3 separate regions of the Homo sapiens genome follow, and regions 1 and 3 are each linked to region 2. Evidence: promoter capture Hi-C in human tissues and cell types (Jung and others, 2019). All regions are on one chromosome and are shown on one strand. The core of a region is centred on a gene start or on the middle of the fragment in contact, and the rest is flanking DNA. Distances in the headings are between cores, read along the strand shown. Region 1 overlaps CNNM1 (cyclin and CBS domain divalent metal cation transport mediator 1). Region 2 holds the start of CNNM1 (cyclin and CBS domain divalent metal cation transport mediator 1). Region 3 overlaps CNNM1 (cyclin and CBS domain divalent metal cation transport mediator 1).

Region 1 (3,448 bases), core at 364-2,863, 63 kb before region 2:
TGTTGGTTGTACAATACTCTAGGGTGTGCCGAGAATTTCTGAGGACTTCCACTTCTTGGTGGGTGCCAGCCTTCCCCATCAATTGATGGACATTTGAAAAGACCACTTATGATTAAAAACCTGTCTCGAACTGCCCAGTATCCACTTCACTCTGCATTGCAGAAACGCTGGGCTGAAAGTTCCACTATTTAAAATAGTAGTGTTTTTTTTTGTTTGTCTGTTTGTTTTAACTCTTTGTAGGTCTGAGACCTTTGAGAACCTTATGAAAGCTTTAATGCTCTGGAAAAAACATACAAGAATAAATACATTAAATACTGACAGTTTTAGGGGTTTCATAGACCCTCTGAAGTCCAACTATGGACCCCCTGGGGTGATGGACCCCAAGTTAAGAACCCCTGAGTTAACAGTTCCTGTGGGTAAGCATTTTCTTTTGAGATGCAGATAACCCAGAGGAATGATCAGTCTCCCTCCTGCCTGTGAATGACTCAATGGGTGTGGGGAGGTGGGAGGGAGGGTTTTGGAGGAAGGGGAGGGAAGCTGGATGGTATACTACGGGGAAAGGTTTGGGAATGGTTTGGAGATTTAGCAGACAGCACTCGATCAATGAGTTCAGTGAGTACTTGACTGAGAACATCTAAAGAGTAGGAGACAGATCAGAAAGGGAGATAGTTATTCTGAAGACAAATTTCACTTACTTCCAAGTTTTCCCTAAGGCTGGCTGTGGTTGCTTTTCTTTTCTTTTCTCTTTCTTTCTTTCTTTTTTTTTTTTGCGGGGGGAGACAGAGTCTCGCTCTGTTGCCTAGGATGAAGTGCAGTGGTGTGATCTCAGCTCACTGCAACCTCTGCCTCCCAGGTTCAAGCGATTCTCCTGCCTCAGCCTCCCGAGTAGCTGGGACTACATGCCCAGGAGAGATGGGGTTTCACCATGTTGGCCAGGCTGGTCTCAAACTCCTGACTTCAAGTGATCCACCCGCCTCGGTCTTCCAAACTGTTGGGATTACAGGTGTGAGCCACCGCGCCCGGCTTTGCGGTTGCTTTTCAGAACTGTTTTATTCTTGGAAGCAGGTATGCGCGGTCACTCTGCCATCTGGTGGTTATGCTTGGAATTGCACCTGCCCCAACTTCAGGAGAAAAACCAGAGATCCAGTAAGTTCTTGGAATAAAGTACACTCAGCTGATCTGCTAGGGTGTAGTAAGGGGGTGGGAGAAGGACAAATGCATGAAAAAGAAGAATGATTCTTCAACATTCCTGTGTAACTCCCACTGAAGTCCCATGAGATTATGTATCTTTCTTGGCTGACCTGGGCACTCTTTGGTTTGTCATGGCTAAACTTGCTTTCAGCACTTACAGTTTTTCCATGTAAGTTTTGTTTGTTTTTTGCTTTGATTTGCACTTAAGACCTGAAGTTCCATCTCTGGCTCCCAGTTGGGTCTCTCTGCTCCCTGTTCCTTCTCTTCCAGAGCAGAATTATTGATCGATTGAAGACTGCTGATTGGGAGCCAAAACAGATGTGTCCCTGGTAAAAACAGTGACTTGAGGTTCCATCTCACATTCTTTCCATTCCAGCTGAGACATACTGCCCCAGGCTGCTGGAACCCTTATCTAACAGGAAACCAGTCACTAACAGTTTTCTGTGCTGTAATGTCAATCACGCGCCAACATGGCTGAGTCCCACTTCTTTAAAGCTCTGGGGGAAATTCTTGGTCCATCCCCTGAACTAATCTTCAGACCTCCTACTCCAGCCTCCCATGTGCCTGTCTGCCAATGGCACCTTCTGAGCCAAGCTATGCATGAAATGTGTTAGAAAGTTAACATTTTGTTCTGGAGGAAAGAATGGCAAGTTCCAAGACGATAGGTCTCCTATGGCATCAGGGGACCCAAAGAACAAAGAAGAGCATCAGGGGTCCCAGAGTGGCATTGTCAGCTTGCAGTCAGACATCTCTTTTCCAGTCCCAGACTATGCTGTGGAAAAGACCATTTCTAGCATGTTCTATCAGAGGCACCTCCTTCTGTTATGGCCATGTCAAGGTTCTGAGTCGAACTGGAGGTAACGAGGGAAAATCTGCCAAACTGACAGCTAGGGGTGAAGAGATGGAAGGGAAGGCAGAACATTCTGTCACCTGTGGGAGGCCTTGGGGGAAGCAGATGATGGGAGGGTGGATTCTCCCCCAAAGCTCTGGAATTTCACACACCCAGTGAATGCTGGCTTTGCCCTGTCATGTGATCAGAGGTGTTAAATTGGAGTTGTCCTCAGAGGTTCTCTCTCCTTCTGGTGACCTCTTCCTTTTTTGGCCACCTGAAAAAAACAAGTTGCAAGTATCAGCCTGTAACACTGGAGGAACATTCATAATTGCTTGGCAGTCTGAGTTCTTTTCAAAACAGAAGCAGAAATGGAGACAAAGCCCTTGACAGCTTGGTTAGAACTAACCGGCATTGTATGCTGGTGCTGATATTGGCATATTTACATCTTGAAAGATTAGGACGTACTTTCCACATAAGATGCCATCTCTGAAAAGTCACAAACCCAGGCTGGTGCCTGGAATTGAGACTTCCTGGAGGGGACTGAGTAAAGCCCATGTAACACCTCAGGCCCATGCCTCCTGCGCCCCTTGGGGGCCAGCCCCTCTGACTGCCAGACACCCTCAGAGAGGACCAATCTCATAGACTTTGATGTCCCATGAATCAGGGTTGGTGGCTGTAGCTGCAAGCCATTTCCAGGGACCTGCGTTCTCTAGCTCTGAAGCAACCTCCCTTCTGCAGTGGGGCAGGTGGGCATAATTACATAGTTGTCCTCAAGGATGAGAGAGCAATCTGTTCCCAGGTCTGTTTTTAGGAAGGAATATCTTCACCTTGTTCTCTCCACCATTGACTTCCATCTGTGGAGGAGATTGCTCTCTTTCTATTGAGTCTCCTGGACACCAATTCTTTAAAGGACTAGACAGAAAATATTAGAGGCCTGTGGGCCATATGGTCTCTGTCACAATTACTCGACTCTGACATTGTTGCCATAGATAACAAATGGATCTGTCTGTGATCCAATAAGTCCTTACTTACAAAAACAAGTAAAGGAGGGAGGTCAGAATTGACCTGTGGGCATGGTGTGCAGACTTCTGTCCTAGAGGACAAACAACTGAATGGGACAGATCCCAAAACTATCAAGGGTGCAGTGCTGGCCCAACCCCTTCTGCGGATTTCCACAATTGTACCTCATTAGGGTTTCTAAGAGGAGTCCATGGCTCCTCCCCCAAGAGGAAGATGCTAACATGCTTTTCCTACTAACCATCAGCAGGGTGGCTCTCATTTGGGTGAAGAACTAGCTACTCACTCAAGGTTCTCAGCAGCTTCTTGCCCACGTTTTCCTCAAAATCGCTACTGCAGGGGCTGGTCTCTGTATCCAGGTTGATGTTACAACATTCACTATCTGATGCTGAGAAAGGAAAGGAGAGA
Region 2 (3,408 bases), core at 108-2,607:
AGCATGAAGCAGTCTCCCAGGGGGGTCAGCACCTCCTCCACAACTTTGGTGCGCAGCTCCAGGGCACCCTGTATGATGTTGAGCTCCTCCTTCACCAGGTCACTGTAGGGGTCTGCGGCCCGCAACGTCTCCAGCAACTTCTCCCGCGTGTAGAAGGTGCTTATCTCCTGGCGCAGCGCCCAGTCCAGCAGGCGGCCCAGCGGGTAGCACACGGGGAAGGCGGCTGCCATCAGAAGCCGGGTCAGGCACACGCTGTGCGAGGCGATGGCCAGCCCGTGCCGCGAACACACTGAGTAGGGGCAGATTTCGGCGCCCAGGAATACCGCGCCGGTGCACACGAGCGCCGGCAGCCACGGGAAGTGGATCCCCTCTTCGCTGTAGTCTTCCCCGGTGCCCCCGAAGCCCGGCGGCAGCGAGGTGTACAGCCAGCCAGCCAGGGCCGCGTTGGCTCCGGCTTGGCCCAGGAGTAGGGTGCAGAGCAGATGGGTCCCCCTGCCGCGAACGGCCTGCACGCGGCGCGCCTGCTCCTGCTCGGCGGCCGAGCCGCTGTTCCGCAGCACCCGTAACTCCACCGGGTCCAGCGACAGCAGGCTCAGGCGCAGGCCGCTGAACAGGGCCGACAAGGCTAGCAGCAGGAGCGCCCCGAGCGCCCGCAGCCACGCAGGGGGCAGCAGGTCCCCGCCTGGGCCGTACAACCGCGGGCGAACGCGCAGCAGGAAGCCGCCGGCGGCGCCGTGGTGGTGCCACGCGCGCCCATCCCAGGCGCAGAGTGAAAAGAGCTTCCCGCCACCGCCCGCGCCGCCCCGCTCCGCTTCGCCCTTGCGCAGCTCCCGCACTCGCACCTGGACCAGGGCCGAGCCTGCCACGCCCCCGGGACGCAAGGGCCCCAGGACTTCCACGTCCGATGCCCAGTCGCTCTGCTCCCTGCAGCGCTGCGGTCCCGGGGGGCGAGTGGGGACCGCGCTGGGGGCCACGCCGCCACCGCCCGGGGGCTCCTCGATGAACACGAGCCGCGGAGCCCAGTCGCCGGTGCCATTCTCCCCCGAGTTGAGGGTCGGTGAGGGCACCGGTGCGGCGGTGGCCGGCGGTCCTGGCTGGAAATAGACACGCAGGAGGAAGCTGGTGCCTTCGGCGGCGCGCAGGGTGCCCCCCTCCAGGGACACGCGGCCTCCAGCAGTGTCCTCGGGCCGCAGGCCCAGCAGCCAGGCGGCGGCGGCCGGGGGCCGAGGAGACAGGGAAAAGAAGAGCAGGAGCACAGCGCCTCGGCTGCAGCAGTCCCGGAGCCTGACACCCACCGCTGCTGCCGCCGCCGCGGCCGCCGCCATCCTGCACCCAGCGCAGCTGCACGTGATACTGCAGGAAGCCGAGCGAGAGCTGGAGGGAGGAGGAGCCGGAGCTGGGAACCCAGCCGCAGGCAGGTCACCACGTGTACGCCCACTGCGCGCGTGGGCTGGTGGCGGTGGGCATTCAGACTCCACCTGGGCAGGAGGTCCCCGCTGGAGGCTGGAGGTGGCCAGGCATCACCGCACTGTGCGTAGCGGGTACACACTTCGGTATATCTGAGATGCAGCCTGAAAAGTCTGGGTTTGCAGCATGGCCTCCTACTCCAAAAGTAAGGTGCTCCTCTGCGAACTCCTACCCGGCAGTAATTCCCTGCCGGCTCCACTGCTTCCCCATTGGCCCGGGAAATTTCCCAGCTTTTCGCTTCTCCTGCCACTTGCATTCCCCCTTCTGGTCAAAAGAATATTCTGGAGTCAAGTCTTGAATATGTGAAAACTTTTAGCCTCAACTCCAGCCGACCTTTCATTATTGTAAACATTTCTGGATTATTTAAGTTCAATTCTTAGTTAAGATCCGAATGTCCATCAATAAGAAACTGTTGAAATAAGTGAAACCACTGTGCAATGGAATACTATGCGGCAATAAAAAATAATGCGGTGGATCTGTTGTATATGTGATACGGAAAAAAATCTCCAAAGTAATTGTAGAAACAAAGTAAGGTGCAGAACAGCAAGTATAATATGCTACCATTTGTGTTAAAAGTATTTATGTATAAATTTGTACACACACACACACTTATATGAGATTTATTTATTTATTTATTTATTTTGAGATGGAGTCTTGCTCTGTCGCCCAGGGTGGAGTGCAGTGGCACAATTTTGGCTCACTGCAACCTCCACCTCCCGGGTTCAAGCGATTCTCCTACCTCAGCCTCCTGAGTAGCTGGGATTACAGGCGTGCGCCACCGCGCCCAGCTAATTTTTATATTTTTAGTAGAGATGGGGTCTCACCATGTTGGCCAAGCTGGTCTCGAATCCCTGACTTCAAATGATCCATCTGCCTCGGCCTCCCAGGGTGCTGGGATTACAGGCGTGAGCCACCGCGACCCGCCGTTTACATCTTTTAATTAATTTATTTATTTTGAGACGGAGTTTCGCTCTTGTCACCCAGGCTGACGTGCAATGGCGCGATCTCGGCTGACTGCAACCTCCGCTTTCCAGGTTCAAGCGATTCTCCTACCTCAGCCTCCTGAGTAGCTGGGATTACAGGCGCCCGCCATCACGCCCGGCTAATTTTTTTTTTTTTTTTTTTTGGTAGAGACGGGGTTTCACCACGTTGGCCAGGCTGGTCTCGAACTCCTGACCTCAGGTGATCCGCCTGCCTCGGCCTCGCAAAGTGCTGGGATTACAGGCATGAGCCACCGTGCCTGGCGGGTTACATCTTAATTATAGTACAATATCAAAAGCAGGAAGTTGATATTGGTGTAATGTGTGTATATAGTTCTCTATCATTTTATCACATGTATGGATGTATGTGACCATCACTGCACTCAAAATACAGATCTATTATCACCAAGATCTGGGAGGGAGACTTTCTTATTAAATTCCTTATATTGTTTGAATTTACTCGACTATATTATTTTTATGCATTTATTTTTAAACTTTATATAGTAAAATTCACTTTTTGGTGTACTGTTCTATGAATGTTGACAAATGCATATACATGTAAACATCACAATAAAAAGTAATTCCATCACCACCACCCCCCAAATTCTCTTACCGTCCTATTGTATGTAGTCAACCCCTCCCTTCGTCTTATCCTCTGGGAACTACTGATCTGTTCTCCCCTATAGTTTTCTTTTCCGGATTATCATATAAATGGAGAATACAGTCTGTAGCCTTTTGGGTTCTCCCTTCCTTTACTAAGTTAGCATAATGCATTTACGATTCATCTATGTTGTTGTGATTTTCAGTAGTTCATCCTTTTGTATGGCTGAGTAGCATTCCATTATATGGATGTGTCACTGTTTGTTTATCCATTCAATAAAGGATATTTAAGTTATTTCCAGTTTTTAGCAATTATTAATAAAGTGGCTATGAACATTTGTGTGATGGTTTTTGTGAGAAC
Region 3 (3,215 bases), core at 34-2,533, 41 kb before region 2:
ACTAGAATTATTAAAATTCATTATACTGGGGCAATATTTAGCATCAGACAACCGAACACCAAAGCCAGCTGTCTGTCAAAACTACGATGTGAACTCTAAGCCCAAGTTAGGATCCCAGATGAACTCATTCACTTTACACGGAGCTTTAATGGTTCCCAAATGTTCATCACACAAGAGCCAACCCGAAGGAATATTTCCACTTACCACATTTTGCAAAGTAGAAATATTATTTTTAGAGATTCCCTGTATATTCAAGCAGAAAACTGTCATTATTGATCTCAGTGCACATTATGAATAGATAACCGAGCACTGAAAAAGAACCGTTGGTTCCAAAGTCTCTGTCTCTGTGCTTTTGTGGATTTGAAAGGACTGTTATGGGGAATTCAAAATTATCTCCACCACCAGGAGAAGAAAGAAGGAGTGAATATGGGGAAAGGGAATGCTAATTGCAGTGGGGCTGTGTACTTTCAGGGGAAACCCCTGATCAGAAGTTTCATTTTTAAATGAAAGCACCTGCCAAGTTGGTTAACCACACCACAACCTGGAGGTAATCTGTGAACCACTGTGTTCTTATTTCAAACTAAGGCTCAAATAGAAAGAGACTCCCTATGGATAATGATGGCAATATTTGGTGCAGAGACCCCTAGCCTCAATCTAGTGCGAGCACCAGATTCGTAATTAGCACTGCTTTCAAAATGCAAATAAATCACAGCCCTCTAGGGGGCATAAAATGTCTATATTCAGAGGTACAGCAAGGTCCCAGGCAGTAGGTGGAGAGCAGGATCTAAGACTTAGATTCCAGTCCTTGTCCCTCTGCCTACCTAATACACATACAACACTGACTGACTTTCTCAGAACCTGTTTTTTAATCTGTTGTTTTTCAATGACTATTCCTGCCTATCTCCCAAAGTGATTGTGGGGAGTCAAATCAGACAATGACAATTCTTTCTTAGACTTCAAGACCCTACTAATCTCTAGGATTTATTTTCCTCCCATATAAGATACGGTTGAGATTTAGCATATATGTAAATTAATGTATCTGGATCAGAAATCAATATTTCCACTTAGCACATTTTGCAAAGTAAAAAAAATTTTTAGGTACTTTGGTATATTCTAGGAGAAAATGGCATCATTGTTGATCTCAATGCACACTATGAATGGACGATCGAGCACTGAATAAGAGCCCTTGGTTCCAAAGTCTGTGCTTACAGGGCCAGAAGTTACCTGGAACTTCTTTCTACAAAAATCCCAGACCTCTGAGGCTACTTCTTTTAATGATTTGGAACAAAAGCAAGAGTGACAGAGGAAATACCACAGAATAGGTCCTGTGGATGTCAGCTGATCACTGGGAAGGCACAGTGATTAGCTCTAGATAGAGACCAGACACAAGGTGGAGAGGAATAAGCCAAAGGAGAAACTAGGCATTCCCTACCTCTGGTTTTCTCCCACTGTACCCACCATTGCTCCACCCTGCAGAGTTAAACCAAGGGTGGGAATAAGCTTACCTCTTTATGGGTAGGGTTTCCATTGTGTTGACACTAATCTCCTGTTGTGTTGAATATCCACAGTCATGGAAAAGGGGGGAAAGTTGAAAATACTCTCAGGGGCACATGACACCACCCAGAGTTGGATCAGAAGTCTCAGCACTTCCTGGGGGTTCTGCACAGCAGGAGGGAATCACTTTCATCTCTGTCTGACATTGGGTTATCATGGACTTTATAATAATCAATACAGATGAACTAGAATTAACCTTCCTTTAACTGGGAAGTTACAATTAACTAGGTCATCTGGTTAACTGAAGGTTAATTAAAAAGGAAAACACATCCTCGCTTTGATCTTTTGGGCTGAAAGTCTTTTAAAATGTGCATCTCCCCTTTCCTCTGAACCTTCACAGCACACTCTTGGCATTCACCAAGATTCACTGCATGTGAAGGAACTTGAAGGTCCATCAAGTGGTCATTTCTAATTTTGCGGGCATGTAGGAGTAGACCATTTAGCTGGTGAGGGCACCAGATTGGCATTTCACATTGACTGTCCGATCCTGTAGTCATTATGAAGGCATGAGCTCTCACAAAGCAAGAAAAACTATTTCTTAGTGGAAAATCACCATCGAGAGAGAGAGAGAAAACTTTGGTGAAATTTGAGAAGGTGGTTAACTTATCTTGTATAGATCAACATGAGGACCAGATGGTTTTTGATGAAAAAAAGTGATTTTGGGAAAAAACAGAAGTCAACATAAATACTTCTGAGGTTGCAAATTGGAGGGTTTGAAGTCTCAAAACATGACCTTTTTTAAATGTTGAGGGTCTACTATATAGACAGAGAAACATAAGCGATTTCTCGATGACTGAGGATATGGTGGGGTCTTAGTATCATTACCCCAGCAACGTGATAAGGGATACAGATTTAGAGGGTAGAGGAAATTGGACTGTGTTCTAACTGCAGGGCAATTTAACAAATACATTCCTGGTTTAGTCATTACTTGCTCTATGAGCCCAAGAGAACAACCACTGGAGATGAAAACAAACGGTTGATCATTCAGATTTGTGGCATTCTACTCAGTCATTGAATCATTGTCTAGCTCTATGAGGAATTGTTACCCGATTAAAAAGAAACCCAGTGACTATTTCATTTATCAACAAAAGAGGTTAAACCTAATGAAAAGTTGTTTTGAAAGTTTTACATATAGCATCCTTTGTACGAGCAGAGCTAGTGAGCATATGATCATCACATAGTAACATTATTAGGAAGATGAGGACATGGAAGGAAAGAAAGGTAGAAAGAAAATAGGTAGAAATAAAGCACAGTATTCCACTATTCCTACTTCATTCATGCTGTACTCCTCATCCCTCCATTCTGTAGTCAGACAAATGAGGAAAAACTCACACTATCCCTCACCCCCACCATTTTTCCATGTGCATACACAGATACATTCCTGGGAGGTAAACTCACAAATGACACCACTGAACCAGCAATGCCTGGGTGGTATGTGCAAATGAGTGCTATTTGTGCAAAGTGCTATGCCTTAGTCACAGGAGTGCCTGTTGGAGTGATTAGTTCTCATGCAGGAAAGTGACAGAGGCCAAAGGCTTCTTGCAAACCCCTCTGGATCTACAGAGACCCGAGACACCCATGCATGTTTACCTGGGGAGCCTGCCAGAGAGTCCCCTCTGCTGACAGCGAAGGTACGAGACACAGAGACAGGCACTAAAGAG

What was found. Contacts are between HindIII fragments. The study calls those that stand out against the background at their distance.
Region 1: a contact is called between a fragment that was not itself captured here and the fragment with the promoter of CNNM1 in region 2, in 1 of the 25 tissues and cell types used here (thymus).
Region 3: a fragment that was not itself captured here is called in contact with the fragment with the promoter of CNNM1 in region 2 in 1 of the 25 tissues and cell types used here (H1 embryonic stem cells).

What each region holds. Positions count from the first base shown.
Region 1 is chr10:99,390,286-99,393,733 of GRCh38, reverse strand. It overlaps CNNM1 (cyclin and CBS domain divalent metal cation transport mediator 1), which reads right to left. Exons shown (of 11, transcript NM_020348.3): 10 at 3,327-3,428; 11 at 1-2,297. The coding sequence ends at 2,218. Among named protein-coding and RNA genes, the nearest start is that of GOT1, 39 kb to the left of the region's middle. The HindIII fragment of the contact is 6,285 bases long and covers 1-3,448 here.
Region 2 is chr10:99,327,305-99,330,712 of GRCh38, reverse strand. CNNM1 (cyclin and CBS domain divalent metal cation transport mediator 1) reads right to left here and starts at 1,357. Exons shown (of 11, transcript NM_020348.3): 1 at 1-1,357. The coding sequence starts at 1,325. The HindIII fragment of the contact is 11,915 bases long and covers 1-3,408 here.
Region 3 is chr10:99,368,610-99,371,824 of GRCh38, reverse strand. The region is part of intron 6 of CNNM1 (cyclin and CBS domain divalent metal cation transport mediator 1); the gene reads right to left. Among named protein-coding and RNA genes, the nearest start is that of CNNM1, 41 kb to the right of the region's middle. The HindIII fragment of the contact is 3,893 bases long and covers 1-3,215 here.